Linked DNA regions of Homo sapiens: region 2 is linked to region 1. The links are contacts of gene promoters, found by promoter capture Hi-C in blood cells and fetal thymus (Javierre and others, 2016). All regions are on one chromosome and are shown on one strand. Each heading gives the region's core, a stretch centred on a gene start or on the middle of the fragment in contact. The rest is flanking DNA. Distances are from core to core; before and after follow the strand shown.

What was found. Contacts are between HindIII fragments. The CHiCAGO score rates a contact against its expected background, and 5 or more counts as called.
Region 2: a fragment that was not itself captured here is called in contact with the fragment with the promoter of SARAF in region 1 in 1 of 17 cell types (total CD8 T cells); the score reaches 5.9 in total CD8 T cells.

What each region holds. Positions count from the first base shown.
Region 1 is chr8:30,079,053-30,086,965 of GRCh38, reverse strand. It overlaps SARAF (store-operated calcium entry associated regulatory factor), which reads left to right and starts at 3,902. Exons shown (of 6, transcript NM_016127.6): 1 at 3,902-4,119. The coding sequence starts at 4,017. RefSeq lists a silencer at 3,579-3,948 and an enhancer at 3,989-4,338. The HindIII fragment of the contact is 3,638 bases long and covers 3,607-7,244 here.
Region 2 is chr8:29,054,200-29,062,112 of GRCh38, reverse strand. No RefSeq gene overlaps it. Among named protein-coding and RNA genes, the nearest start is that of HMBOX1, 170 kb to the right of the region's middle. RefSeq lists enhancers at 656-775, 806-855, 916-965, 1,006-1,145, 4,443-5,642. The HindIII fragment of the contact is 2,483 bases long and covers 3,093-5,575 here.

The DNA of each region.
Region 1 (7,913 bases), core at 2,653-5,152:
TTTCAGCCCACCCACCAACCAACAGGAGAGATCGGGGGCGGGTGGCTGGAGATTAAGCTCTATACAAACTCTTAGACAACAAGATTTCATGAGCTTCTAGGTTGCTGAATACAGGGAGGTGCTGGGAGGGTGGAGTGCCCAGCGAGGGCATGGAAGCCCCATGGCCTTCTTATCTTTGCCCTATCCATCTCTTCATCTGGCTGTTCATCTGTATCCTTTATAAATCCTTTACAATAAACTGGTAAACATAAAATATTTTCCTGGACTGACGTCTGAATTGGGGCAGTCTTGTGGGAGACTGGGCCCTTAACTTGAATTGAGTTATAGGACATCGTGTTGATGTCCTTTAGAGTTGGTTGGTGTGTAGGGAAATACTCCCCCAGCCCCTCTTCTGGTCACAGAACTGCTCTGTGTTTTGTGCCAGTAGAAAGGAGAAAACAGTTTGTTTTTTCCTTTTACAGCCTCATCATTTAGCTCTCAGCTCAAATGGTAATTTCTCAGAGAATCTTTTCTGGGCCATCCTACTTGTTATGGCACTACCTGTCATATTGCTCTGTTTTCTTCTTCAAGGTACTTATTATTATTTGAGATAGAGTCTTGCTCTGTTGCCCAGGCTGGAGTGCAGTGATGCAGTCATGGCTTGCTGCAGCCTCAACCTCCAGGGCTCAAGTGATCCTCCCACCTCAGCCTCTTGAGTGGCTGGGACTACAGGCACATGCCACCACATCTGGCTATTTTTTTTTTTTTTTTGAGACGGAGTCTCACTCTTTCGCCCAGGCTGGAGTGCAGTGGTGCGATCTTGGCTCACTGCAAGCTCCGCCTCTCGGGTTCACACCATTCTCCTGCCTCAGCCTCCTGAGTAGCTGGGACTTAGGCACCCGCCACCATGCCCAGCTAATTTTTTGTATTTTTAGTAGAGACGGGGTTTCACTGTGTTAGCCAAGATGGTCTCGATCTCCTGACTTCATGATCTGCCTACCTCGGCCTCCCAAAGTGCTGGGATTACAGGCGTGAGCCACTGTGCCTGGCCACATCTGGCTAATTTTTTAAAAACAATTTTTTGTGGAGATGGGGTCTTACTATGTTGCCCAGATTGGCCTCAAACTCCTGGTCTCAAGTGATCCTGAGCCTCGGCTTCCCAGAGTGCTGAGATTACAGGTGTGAGCCACCGTGCCTGGCCCAAAGCACTTATTTATTTGAAATGACATGATTTGTTGGCTACCTCTCCCACTAGAATGTTTATTATAACAACCTTTCATCTTTTGTTCATGACTGTCCAGAACTGTACATGGTACATGGTGGGAATCTAAAATAACAAACATTCTCTTGTTAAGGTAATTAGTGATTTCTACATTGCAAAATTCAGAGACCAAATTTTGCTTCAAGCTTTCAGCAACAGTGGACACTGTTGACCATTCTTTCTTTCTCTCAATTACCATATCCTATTGTCCTAGTTCTTCCTCCTTCTTCACCAGAGGTTACTTCTCAGATTCTTTCTAGAATCTTCTGCTTGAGGTTCAAATGTTAGTGTTTCCATAGCCTGGGCCTCCTTTTTTGTGGTATCTCAATTCTCTCATGTTACTGTGTCTCTTCCCACATGTCTTAGTTCATTTTGTGTTGCTATAACAGAATACCTGAGACTGGGAAATTTATAAAGTATAGAGATTTATTTCTTATGGTTCTGGAGGCTGGGAAATCCTAGGTCCAGGGGCCTGCATCTGGTGGGGAGCTTCCTGCTGTGTCATTTCACGGTGGTAGGCAAAAGAGAAAGGGAGCTGAACTCATCCCTTTTATCGGGAACCCACTCCCCAATAACTAACCCACTCCTGTGATAATAGCATTAAGAGCTCTGCCCTCATAACCTAATCACCCCTTAAGAGTCCCCCCTCTCAACACTATTGCTTTGGGGAATAAGTTTCCAACACATGAGCTTTGGGGGACACATTCAAACAATAGCATCATGACATTAAATGCTATCTTTATATTTACAACATAACTACCAAATTTACCTTAGTTTTGAACTTCAGACTTTTACAGTTTATCTATTTATTTGACACGTCTACCTGGATGCCTAATAGTCACCTCAAACTTAACATGTTGAGCATAGATTCTCTATTATCTCTTATTTCAGTCCTTGGTCCCAGCATTGGTTGGTTCCATGCCGAGGCCCCACTGCTCTGCCATCTCTTATTCCACTCTTCCCCTAACTTACTTTGCTTCAGTTATGGCCTTGTTTGCCTCTTGTCCCCCAAATTTTGTTTTATTCACTGCTGTATCCCCAATACTGATAACAGTGCCTGGCAGGTACTGTTAGGTACTAATAGGTGCTCAATATAATAATCTGGTAAACATAAAGTGTTTTTTTGAGTTCTGTGAGCCATTCTAGCAAATTATGGAACTCAAGATGGGGGGTTATGAAAACCCCAATTTATTTGTTGAGAGGGAGTCTCTCTCCATGGTCCAGGTGCAGTGGGGCAGTCTTGACTCACTGCAACTTTCGCCTCCCAGGTTCAAGCGATTCTCTTGCCTCAGCCTCCCAAATAGCTGGGATTACAGGTGTGCACCACCACGCCCAGCTATTTTTCCTATTTTTAGTAGAGGTGGGGTTTTGCCATGCTGGCCAGGCTGGTCTTAAAGTCCTGACCTCAGGCGATTCACCTGCCTTGGCCTTCCAAAATGCTGGGATTACAGGCATGAGCCACCACGCCCGGCCTGGAAACCCTAATTTATAGCTGGTTGGTCAGAAGCATAGGTCACAACCTGAGACTTGTGATTGATGTCTGAAGTTGGGGCCATCTTGTGGGACTGAACTCTTTATAGGATCTGACCAAATAACTCTTCCTCGAAACACAAAGTTAGGGCTTTTGCATCCACTGTTCCCCAGATGGGAAGATGAGTCCCCTGATCTTTGTACGGCTAGTTCTTTCTCATCATTCAGGTCCCAAGCTTCAAAAACCACTTCCTCAGCAAGGCCCTCCCTGAAGTTGTGTCCCCAGGCTCCATTATATCACCCTGTTTTTCATCAATGTTATTACCTATCATTACCTATTATTTTTGTTGTTTAATTGGTATGTCGTTTGTCCTATTCTATTTCAATGAGTACAGGGATCTTGTCTGTACCATCCATGCCTAAAACAGTGCCTGGTGCGTATTAGGTATTCAACATATATTCATTGAATGAATGAATGAATGAATGAATGAATGAATGAATGAAAGAAACCCAAGCCTGCTAGACCTCAAAAGCCCAGAGAACTGTTTTCTCTGGCTGGTTCTTCATTCAGACGATATTTTCTCCTCTTGACATTTTATAGTCTTCCGGCCTCCATGCGCAAGGAACCATGTAAAGGTTCTGAGCCTTGAAACCAGACAATGTATTTCCCTGTTACTTTTCGCTTGAATCTTCTCTGTATTTAGCAACCAGTCATAGAACACTAACCATGTACCAAGCGCTATGCTAAGTGCTGAACACATAGAGCTGAATAAAGCACAGAACTACCCTTGGTACAATTATTGAGGTTTTAATAATACATAATTTGACTACATTTCTTAGATTTCGCGTCGTGACGTTTTCAGCCTCTCAAACTGCATCGCCTACGCACAGAAGCTTCCCGAATCTCAGACGAGACACAACAAAGCTGCGCGCTGCCCTCGCCCCGCCCGCGGGCGCGGCGGCGACAGGCCCTCGGCCCCGCCCACACCGCGGCGCCACGCCTCCAACCCGCCTCCAGCCGTGCCTCCCCAGGCCCTTGGCCCCGCCCACACCGCCTCGCCCCGCCCCAAGCCGCGCTGTGCTCCAGGGGCGGGGGCCCACGGCGGCCACTCACTGAGCCCCACGGGCCGCAGCGGCAGTGACGTAGGGTTGGCGCACGGATCCGTTGCGGCTGCAGCTCTGCAGTCGGGCCGTTCCTTCGCCGCCGCCAGGGGTAGCGGTGTAGCTGCGCAGCGTCGCGCGCGCTACCGCACCCAGGTTCGGCCCGTAGGCGTCTGGCAGCCCGGCGCCATCTTCATCGAGCGCCATGGCCGCAGCCTGCGGGCCGGGAGCGGCCGGGTACTGCTTGCTCCTCGGCTTGCATTTGTTTCTGCTGACCGCGGGCCCTGCCCTGGGCTGGAACGACCCTGGTGAGTGCTGCCAGGGCCCTCAGGCGCTTCGTTCGCCCTTTTCCGCCGCCGTCAGCCGGTGCAGGCTCCCCTGCGTTTCCGTGCGCCGTCTTCCCGGAGCCTGGGTGCCCGGATTCCCCATGTCTGACCTCTTTGCTGTTCGTGCTCTCCCTGGTTCCACTGCTCTTCCCAGGCGTCTTGGGAGGCGGGTAGGGACTGCTCGAGTGGGCGGGGCGGGACGGCTGGAGATCCTTAAGGTCCCCTTTCTCCCTGCCCCGGACTCCCGGAATTTGCCCATTGTCGTCTTTCTCATCTCTGAGTATAACTGGAGAGCTGGACACTCACCTGCGCATCTGCTTTGTTGTTATGGCTGTGTGATGTCATCGTGGCCTGCTGTTGTCATGGCTGCCTGTTGCTATCGCCGGCCGTTGCCTGCCACTGGCAGTCTCTGAGTCACCCTTAGCGGACAGGGCTGCAGACCTCGCAGGTCTGTTAGCAGAATCGCAGATTGCACTCTTTTTTTTTTTTTTGAGTCGGAGTCTCACATTGTCGCCCCGGCCGCACTGCAATGACGTGATCTCGGCTCACTGCAACCTCCGCCTCCTGGGTTCAAGAGATTCTCCTGCCTCGGCCTCACCGGTAGCTGAGATTACGGGTGCCCACCACCATGCCTGGCTATTTTTTTGTATTTTTAGTAGAGACGGGGTTTTACTATGTTGGCCAGGCTGGTCTCGACCTCCTGACCTCGTGATCCACCCGCCTTCATCCTCCCAAAGTGCTGGGATTACAGGCGTGAGCCACCGCGTCTTTATGAGAACCGCTGCCTCTTATCTGACGATTGCAGTGATGTACATCGCGCGGCACCAGCTCTTCCCATTGGCTTTCACCGTAGAGAAGAATTTAAAAAATAATTTTCTCGGTTTTTTTTAGTGATGGTACATGATAAGTGGGTTTTAGGAAAGAGGTTCTTTTATGTCAGTACAGTATTAAAATTGTCTAAAGAATTTTCATGGGATCAGTAATATTCCGTGCAATTAATACGTATATGTCTATATACTTAGATACAGATTTTGACTTTTTCCATGTAATAAATGACGCATGCTGTTACTTTGGAATTCTGTAAAAAAAAAAAAAAATGAAAACAACATCATTTTTGCTTTGCGAAGTAAAGATGGCATGGAAAGCATATTGCCTTTGTGATTTGGTGATTGGAAATGCCTGCATTGTCGAATTTAAGCAACAGGTTTATTTCTATAATAGCCTATTCTTACATGCTGAAATGAGAGAGAAGGTGCTATTTGCAAGCACATCACGTTGAGTAGTCATTTGATGTGGACATTTTATTACCAAAAATAAAAAGCCAAGTTGTATTTAAATGTCTGTACGTTTTTCTTTTGTATTTCTAGAAAGCTGTGTATGAGTGGGAGACTTGATCAGAATTACAAGTGAAAACCTAGAATGAAACTTTAATTTGTTGAACTTTGAATCAGTTCGTAAATAAATTTAATAAAGGAAGTTTACAGTTGAAGAGCCAGAAGAACTATAAAAACTATGAAAGAAGAACCAAATTTAAATTAAAGATGAACCACTTCCTGGTTTATCTACGCTGTAAAACTATTGTTCTGGAACACAAAGCACCACAATATTTTGCAGAGTAAACTCAATTGTTTTATGTAAATTCTACTTCAAAGTTTACTTTGAGGAACTTTTTTGTTTTGTTTTGTTTTTTTGAGACAGTTTCACTCTTGTCGCCCAGGCTAGAGTGCAATGGCGCGATCTTGGCTCACCGCAACCTCTGCCTCCTGGGTTCAAGCGATTTTCCTGCCTCAGCCTCCCGAGTAGCTGGGATTACAGGCATGTGCCACCATGCCCGGCAAATTTTGTATTTTTAGTAGAGACAGGGTTTCTCCATGTTGGTCAGGCTGGTCTTGAACTCCCAACCTCAGGTGATCCGCCCGCCTTGGCCTCCCAAAGTGCTGGGATTACAGGCGTGAGCCACCGCACCCGGCACTTTGAGGAACTTTTTAAATGAAGATACTTTATTGACATACTATTTATTAAGTCCTTTACTAAAGCATTAATCGGCTCCCTAATTTATCTTTTGTTTGACTTGGATGCCATTACTTTAGCTCACATTGAGCAGTAATTTGTCTGGAAAAAAAAATTAGCACCATTCTAAAGAGATTACCAATGAATTTTCAAAATTCCTTATTGAATGTAATCTTATATTAAGTTACTCTTCCGGGTGTTGGGAATATAGCAGTGAACAAAACAGTGTCTTGCCTCCAAGGACTTTACCTCTATTGGGGAGAAATAGACAATAAACAGATAAACATGTAAATAACATGCTATATTGTGAAAATTGGTATGCACCGTGTATGATAAACAGCGTAAGGAGGACATGGTGTGCGGGCAGAAGTGGAGACTTAAAAAACGTACATTGGTCAGGGAAGTCACTGTTAGGGTGACATTTGACTGGAAACCTGAAGTGGGGAGGAGGAGTAAATGACCTGAAATTACTTATATCTTTAAAGGCTCATTTGGGCTGCTCTGTGGAAAACAGACCGAAGAGGGTAGGAGGGAAGCAGGGAAACCAGTGAATTAATATATATTGCTATCTATTTTAATATTGTACAGTAAGTTCTTAGAGTGGTGACCGCTTGGCCCAGGGCAGGAGCAGTAGAGAGCTGGTTAGAGTAGCTGGATTCTCTTGTCACCTGTTTGGAAGGTGGAGCTAACATGATCTTCTGAAGGATCAGATGTAGGAGTGAGAGGAGAGAAGATGAGAAGTCCAAGGTTTTTGGCTTGAGCAACTAGAAGCATGGAGTTAACCATTTCCTGAGATGTGGAAGAATGTGGGATGATCAGGTTTAGGGGAGTTTGGTTTTGTTTATCTTGTTTGAGACCTGCCGTGATTTTGATTTATGAGTCTGGAGTTCAGGGAGCTCCTGTGTCCCTTGACTGATCTAACTAGTGGGGCGTGGGTATTAGAATTTTGTTCTTGGACCTTAAGAATCTCTAGGGAAGAAAGATGCTATAGGATTATGGTAATGCTATTCCATCTTAAAACTTTCAGTAATATTTATCATACCTGATCACCTGTTATGCTTCAAGTACTCAGCCAGATAATAAATTATATCTAAGCTTCACAACAAATTTCAAGGTTGATAATATTTTAATTTTGTAGGTGAGGAAACTTCTACACAGGTAAATTAAATGCCTTGGCCAAAGTCACAGCCAGTTAGTGACACCAACTTAGTTCAGTGTTCTTTGCATTATTGCAACTCTGTTACAATAAATTCAATTTATTATTTCTGTTATTTAGTTGATTAATACAGTCTGATTTTTCTAAACCATTGAACATTTTCATTGTCTTATTTTTTATGTATGAGGAGGTAGTAGTTTGTGTTTAATGTAGCATGGTTTATTTGAATATAGTTCTTGGAAATTTTAGATCTGTAGCCCATGTGGAATTAAATTTTTATATAGCTTTAGGTGGATTTTCTTGTGGCTGCATAGTCAATTATGCCAGTGCTATTTATTAAAGAAGACATCTTTTATCCACTAAATTAAAAAGACCACTTCATCTTACTGAATTCCCAAATGTATCTTGATTTATTTCTGATCTTTCTTTTGTTTCACAATTTCCTTGTCTCTGTTCCAATTCCCTACTATTTTGATTATAATCTTTTTTTTTTTTTTTTTTTTTGAGATGGAGTTTCACTCTTGTCGCCCAGGCTGGAGTGCAGTGGTAGCAATATCAGCTCACTGCAACCTCCACCTCCTGGATTCAAGTGATTCTCCTGCCTCAGCCT
Region 2 (7,913 bases), core at 3,085-5,584, 1.0 Mb after region 1:
TGTCTTGCTCTCCTGTCTTCTTAGTGGCTACTGAGATTTCCCTAAGCAGACTCTTAAATTCTCTATGAACCAAGACCAAACCACATAAACAGAAACGGCCCTAAAGAAAGAAACGCTGGAAAACAGTGACGAAGCCAGCCTGATATGGCTGTGAAGCGATCTCTCCCGCTAGCTTGTCCTTGCCTTGTTCTGCCTGCAGAACGCCAGGGACACTGGAGAGGGGCAGCCGCCCTGTGCCCACCCTCAAGGGCCAGTGCAGGGTGGGGAGGGATGGGGACAGGGCATAGGCCGACTCTCTGGCAGGTTCCAGAGGTCTGTATCTTGCTTAGGCACTTAAAAAACATAAACAAAAATTTATCCTTGAAAAGTACTGCATACCCAACGTGACCATGGCCGTGGAAGGCAGGGCGAGCCCGGGGGGGAGATCATAGAAGGCTGTGGGCTCTTCCAGGGGAGGCAATGATGACGCACATGGTGTCTCTCGGCAGGGGGAGTGTCCTGCCTTGCAGCCAGGGTGTGTCTGAAGACGCCAGTGCTGTGATGGCTCAGGGACCGCAGACTCGGCCCAGCAGAGGCCTTCCTGTGACCGTGCTCTACAGCCCCCCGGGAAGTGGCTAGAAGAGGCAGGGATGGGGAGGCTCCTAGGGCCTGATCTAGACGCCCGCCATGGGTCGGGGAGGCACAGGCTGCACACACTTGCTTTCTAGAGTCACCATGAGGCAACTACTAGGAAAAGAGGAGGCCCTTCCGAGTGCTCCGGCAAAACTGAGGGGCAGTCGGGACGCCCTGCCCAAGCTCCCAGTGCTTCGAAAGAAAAGCTCCACTCCCCCACATCCAGAACTTTGGTTTTGGTTTCATGGTGCCCATTTTCAGAGATGCAGTATTAAGGGGATCACCGATTCTAACATAATGAAATGTGGTTTTCAAGGCAAAAAACAATGCTGCTTGAAAGCAGCCACCGCTGAGCACGTGTCTTCCTGCAGCCCACTCTTCTAACTCTGTGCCTGCCCGCCGTGAATCTGGTTTAAGAACAAAAGAGTTCAATGCAACATCACCAGAGTGGCTGCTGCTTACATTAGTATAACACTAATGTCATTCTGTGTTCGGGCTTAATAGCTCCAACGAATGATGACGTGGAAAAATGACTCTCACGAGTTTACGCTGGGATCTTAGTTCCAGTAACGGAAGAAAAGGAGAGGTTTCTGTGCTCAAAGGAAGCCACAAAACATGACTGAAATTGAGACTCAGCCCGAAGTGACAGGAAGTTGAAAAAGTCTTAAAGGGAAGAAGGAATAAGCCTTGAAACACAAATTCTGTGACTTGTCACTGCCACAGACACTGGTTTGTGAGAGCCATGAGTTCCTTCCGAGGGAGGAATCAAACTGCTCCCATTCCAAAATCCCAATGGCACCCCAGCCACCACCAGATGCAAAATCTGGACCGATAACAAAATGCAAGGCACATATACCTTTTCTCTTTCAAATTAAGGAGGCTTTTTGGGGATTGGAGGTTGGATAATAACGTAACTGTGTACCTATTACAGGTACAGAGGATCCAGGGAGACTCTCACGAGGACCAGTCCACAGCTGTGGCCTTGCTTCTGAGGTGGTTCCAAGATGCCCACGACGGGGCAGAGCAGATCAGAAGAGAAAGACCATGAGAGAGCCAACCCCTAGAGGACCACTTACGTTTGACGGAAAAGAGGTAGACAAGGGAAGGAGGGAAGAAATGTGGAACTTTAGTTAGCTGAGTCCTCAGGTCAGCTTGGTACCCATGTCCCTTGTTCAATGTCCCTGACAAGTTACCACAGTTCCACGTGAAATGTGGCAGGACAGGAACCAGACCTCTACCTCAAAGGAGCTCATGCCTTTGCTGGATTCTGGGTTCTAGAAAGTTCTTACGCTGACCCCAAATCAAGATATGTCTCCAGCAACTGTTATTTCTTGGCAGTCAGGGCCCATGAGGAGGCAGGGAGGCCTGAGGCAGAGCAGACACTGATCTAATTCCAGAACCCCAGACCCCCGGTTTCTAGAGAGGAGGAGGGGCCAGCTGAGCAAGATGCTCCTGAACACAGCAGGAGCCCCGAAGGAACGGCCAGGGTAGCGCTACAAGAGCTGGAGAGAGAAGATGGGAAGTGCAAGAGGGTTTCCTGGTCTCTGCCTTGGCTAACTGCAGGCAAGGGGTGCCGGAGTTCAAGTTCCCCTCGGCCACACAGGCTTCCCACCCTGTCAACCACTGCGGCACCTCCCTGCACTCCTGTCATCATCACTGACCAGGGAGGAAGACTCTGGAGGGGCCCTCACGTCCAGACCCTCACGGAGGGAGTTCAGCTCACAGAGGCGGGGGCGATGCCACAGTGCGCCTGGGAGGCTACCTGGCACTGCTGCGTGAGAAAGCAAACCAGGTTAGTGTTCAGAGAGGGCAGACCATCCTATGTGGTCTGTTCTTTGAAGATGAACGTCCTACTGAAATGAAAGAAATGAGGGGAGACTTGCCTTGCCAAGGGCAAGGTGACTTGCTTGGTGTCGGGTCATGAGGCAGCACACATGTCCAGCACGGTGCCCAGCACACAGTACGTGCTCAGAAAACATGGGCTGTATTGACTTTGAGGTGGTTGGGAGACCTGTGCATTTGTCTCTGTAGTATTATGATTTACAATGGTGGCATCTTTAGTTTCCTATAAGAATAACTAACTTCTGGGGTTTTTGTTCAAAAACCACATATTTCATGGGTAAGCACTGTCTCAATTTTCACTGATTTTGGTAAGCTGAGTTACGGAAAAGGGTGGGCGCTGCTGGTAAAGGAATATATGGTTGGGGTTTTCTGAATCACCAGAGTGGCCTGCAGAAGCATTTGGGAAGGGAGGTGTCTCTCCAACTTCAGTTCTTTTGAAGTAGCACCATCCCTGAAGCAGCACCTCTAATACCTTGATCCCTAAGACAGGGGCTCCATTAGAAGGTTTTAACTGTGGTGTTAATTGTGTTTTCTTTGAGTGTAGGTGGATCATCAGAATGTTCTGCTGACGGTTTTAATGCATGTCTCACAAATCATAGAATTAGACTCATCCAGTCAGCTCTTACCATCTCTAAGCTTAAGACGGATTCTAAATTCTAATGGAGACAGTCATATTTTAGCAGCTGGGAAAATAGGAAAAGGAATGCTCTACTCTTTGAGGTCATAAATCTACAATCATTCCAGTTGTCATAAAGATAGGATCCCAAAGAAAACAGTTTCAACAACTGCATGCATGGATCTTGAATGCCGGTGTGCAAGGGCTGGGTGGGAATGAGGTTGCTTTCAGAGCCTATACGAGGAGGAATACTGAGGGAATACTAGACATTTCTTTGTAGGTATTTTGTGGGGAATGAAAAGATAAGATTCCCAAGCCCTAAGAGCCTTTCCCTAAATTCTCTAGGTGTGTGTATTTTCAGGGAAGAGGAAAATTTTAAATCAGCAGCCTACTTCAGCATTCTCATGAAACTGAATTGCAACTAGCATTTCAACTAGGTTAGGATTCCTTTTGGTATGTGGAGGGGGAAAGATCTGTACAAAGAGAAGCAGCAAAATATGAAAAAAGGCCAGAGCTGTATTCTCCCCAGTGGCTAGCCTAACCAACCCCGGAGTGTCCAGACCTAGAAAAGAAAAGGCTAACGGTCCTGGGCTCACCCAGCACAAGTGCGAGCCTCAAGGGCACGAAACAGCTTACAAAAGGCCATTTGGCACTATGTCTGGTGCTGGTATTCTTGTAGACTCATTCTTGATCATATAATTGAAAAAAGACCTCTGCAAGTGATGGGGGAGAAAAAACAAACCCACATTCTAGGGAAAGGTGAGTTGGTGACTCAGCAGCTCCTGTCTAGTGTGACACTTCTGGAGAAGAGTAGGGGGCCATGGTCAGGGACTGTGTACGGCATCAAGCCCACATGATGTCCCGTGCAACAGGGAGCATGGAAGAGACAGGAGGAAGAGCGGGAGGGAGAGAACATGGACTTGAGTGCCGGGGAGATGCTCACACTGGCACAGCAGAACAGTGGGGAAGACTCAGGGCAACGGCAACGGCGGGAGTGGGGCAGCTGCCGAGTAAGGGGTGTGAGAGGAGCGTACAGACACGTGTCCCGTGCTCCAGTAGCTTTAGAATGTCGTGAATAGTACTCCATTCACGCCTCCACCTGTTTAAAGCCTGTGTTAGTTATATGTGTCCTGTCATGTTGTCTGCTTTGAGTCTTAGGATTCAATGAGGAAACCTCGATTCAATTTTCTGTAAACTTCTGTTTGGGAAATGCTTTCTGATAGTGACGGCAATGGAAATATCAAGCAACCAAGGGAAATCTGAAGATCCCAGAGAGCCCAGCAAGCAGCAACATCCTCGAGTTAGGCAAGCAAGGGCCCGGAGCTGGCCAGACCATGGGCTGGAATGCAGTGGGGGCCGGTCAGAGGGGCTTCTTCTGGGGTCCTGACTGTGGTTTCTGCCAGAGGTGGAGCAAGTTGGAACTGGATGTTGAGTGAAGTTTCAAAGAACTTAGAAGTCAAATGGGGAACAATAATCAAAGGCTTCCATTTTGAAGCTGAAACAACTCCAAATTCTGCTGTTTCACTTAGGGGAGAACACGAGCACCATGTCATTATTTTAGTTTATGGAGCTGCTGTTCCAAATGTTCTTGGGAGCATTAGTGCTAAGAGGGAACAGGGGATGGGAGCGCTGCCATTTCCAATCACATAAAAGACAGAAATTCTTTTAATTATGACCATGCCAATCTACATCCTGCTAAAACAGCTAATTACATGTCAGGAGGACACTCAGTCATTCAGAACAATTGCCATTATATTTTTATATATTCATTCTATGCCACCCCCCTCAATTACCATGGTTACAGTTTGAAAAGATTCAGTCCAACCTTCATTTGATCACAGCACACCAATGTGAATTTGAGAGTTAATTATGGCTATACAGAGCCACTCTTACTTAAAATGAAAATGGAGTCGAGGGAGCCGGCATCCCAAGACTTCTCAAGTGCGAGTCGGGGGGTACATGCCCACGCCAGCCACACCGACCAACTGGAGGGCAGCCGAGCAGGCACGGACACAGCTGTCCAGACCAGGGCCAACCAACCTGCAAACCTGCCACGTGAAAGGAGTGTCAGGAGAGGAGAAAGGCACAGCTCCCCTGCAGCTGCACCCCTCTGGGTGCAGTTACGGGGCTGGCTGATGAGACAGACAATGGGTGTGGCATGTGGGTAGTAAACTGTCTCATGGTGTAAAAATGCTTGTCACATTTCATGTGAACAGAATCAACTAAAAAGTTCTGCCACAAATGTCATAGGAAGAATGACAAAAAAGAGGTTCAGTGATCCGCGTGCCTATAATCCCGAGGCATCTACGTCACTGAGATAAGAAAGGGCAGCCGGCATATCTTCCCTCCCACCCCTCATGTATCTCTTCCCATCTTGATTTAAAACAAAGCCAGTGTTAGAGGAGACTGGAGTTTTCAGATTGTTGGCTTTCTTTTTGCTGCCATTTCTATTCCTCACCAAGAAAGAATAATAAAGCTAATACTGAAACTTCCAATTTACAAGCTTCCAGGTTTGAAAATACATAGATATGAACGAAGTTACCTTTCAGAGATGAGTCAACCACTGGCCCTGCAAGATCACAAGACAGTAGCTTATCACTTTCAATTTATAAGTGGAATGGAGAACAGCCTTTCCAAACATAACCTGTGAGAGGAGTTTCTGTAATCAGAAAACTGACTTGTTGGCTTGTATCCGAGAAGCCTTTCCTATCACCTTAGTATGATAGTTCTCTGGAGAGCTGTGAGGAAATCTTTCTTTTAAAGTGGCGGTCATCTTTGAAACCAAGCATGCATAAGGAAGTAGAGCACAGTACAGGAAAAGAAAGGCCCTCTGCTCTGATCACACACCACCACAACATCCTGACAGATGACCTGGCCATGCACAGCTGCCTCTCCAGGAAAATCTTCCACTCTCATCAGGGAACACTGGACTGGATAACTCAGGTATTCCTAGGTGAAGTAAGTCAGACAATATGGAAATGAAGAAATAAAAAGAGGGCTTTCAGGGCACACAGCTCAGTTTGCCAAATTCAACATGGCTACAACTGATCCCCAAATCCTGAGTAAACACCCTTGCTATTTAATAAGCACAAGCAAAAAAAAAAAAAAAAAAAAAAAATGGAATGCCTTATATGTGTCATTCCCACCCCTGCCCCAGGACATCCCCCCACCCCATCCCACACTCCCCAAAGATACCACCAGCAGGAGCTGGGCAATATGCCCAACTTTCACTTGGGAAATCCTGACAAATCAATCCGGCTCAGTAAAGCTATAAATGGATTTGGCTGGTCTCAACACAGCCCCAATGAATACAGTAGTAAAACATTACTAATAATCACAACAAAATGACAAAATCTATCATCACTCTGACATGATTCAGATCACAGAGATTAACACAGAAACCAACACACAATGGTGAGGGCCAGGGTTCTTCAATGTAGTGTGCTACTGAGCACGGGATCATCAACAAGAAAAATTATTGCCTAAGAATCTGTTGGGACACACTGGGGAGAAAATACTCTGGTCGTTCTCTGAACAACAAAAGACAAAAAACAATTTTAAAAGGCAGAGCCACAAATTAAATGGGAAGACTGCTTGTAACCAAACCCTTCTGAAGACCAGAGAGTAAAGACTTAAGAGTTCACGTTTGTAGGAAGGGGAAGGGAAGGAAGGAGGGAGGGAGAACATCTGTGGGAAAGAGATCATTTCCACTGTTGAGGGCAGAGATGATGAGGCTGGTCAGTGGAATACGTAGCTGGTCAAGACAGGGAGGAGTGTCTGTGTTAAGAGATGGACCACATCCAGCTTTTCCCTGCTGTCACAAGATTAGAAAATTCCAGCAAAGAAGTCAGCTGAAGGCCTAGTCAGAGGGAAACAGAAGAGGAGCTATTCACAGGATGAGGCTGGAGACTCTTGATTCAATGAGTCTGTTTGTACTTGGTGCCTGATGGTTGATATCCAAGGGAGAAGTTTCTAAAGCCAATATTTCTTAAAGACAAATGTTAAACAGGCAGAAAGGAAATAATAACTATATTGGTGAATTCTTCAGTCATCTCCTTTGAGGTAAAATATATCTGGATACATGGACCTAACATAGGTGGTGGTGACCACTGAACTGGCTGCCACCATAAATCTACCAAGAACTAGAGAACTGGATGTGTACACCTCTGCCTTAATGATTTTCCTCGTCTCTGCCCCAGGTTCCTTCTTCCTGTGATGGGCCATGGGAATGTGAATATGGGGGTGGGGTGGGAAGACTGCCCTTGTGAGTGACAGGGGTGGGGACTGTCCAGAGTCATAAGTGAGTGGAAGGCAACTACATTTATTAACCACTTAAAGGATTGTGATTTTGATTGTGAAGAAAATTGCTCTAAGGGCACTCCAACATTACAGACTTTGTTGAAACAAATCAAAACATTTGGAACTGAATAGCACTGAAGGGCTCAGATAAGAATGCAGGGTGTTGCCCTCCCCAGCCTTCATCCACTGTTAGGGTTATCAACAGATGGGCAGAGATCTCATCAAGATGACCCATTTTAAAAGGTCCCTGTGTCAGTGCTTTTAAAGTTTGGAAAGTTTACCCATCTGACCATAGTAATTCAATTAAGGTGTCTTTAAAGAAATAACAAATTATATGAATACCTGTTGGCAAGTTCCCCCACACCCCACTTCAAAAGACCTTTGAAAGTCCTCCTCGACAGGAAGGAACAGCCCCTGCGGGAGTCCCCTGGGGCCTGAAGGAGAGAGTGAAGTACAACGGGAGGGGCGGAACAACCAAGAAGCATACAGTGTGAGTTTTTAGAGCCTGGCTGCTTTCCCTTCAGTAATACGGAAGTTTAGGGTT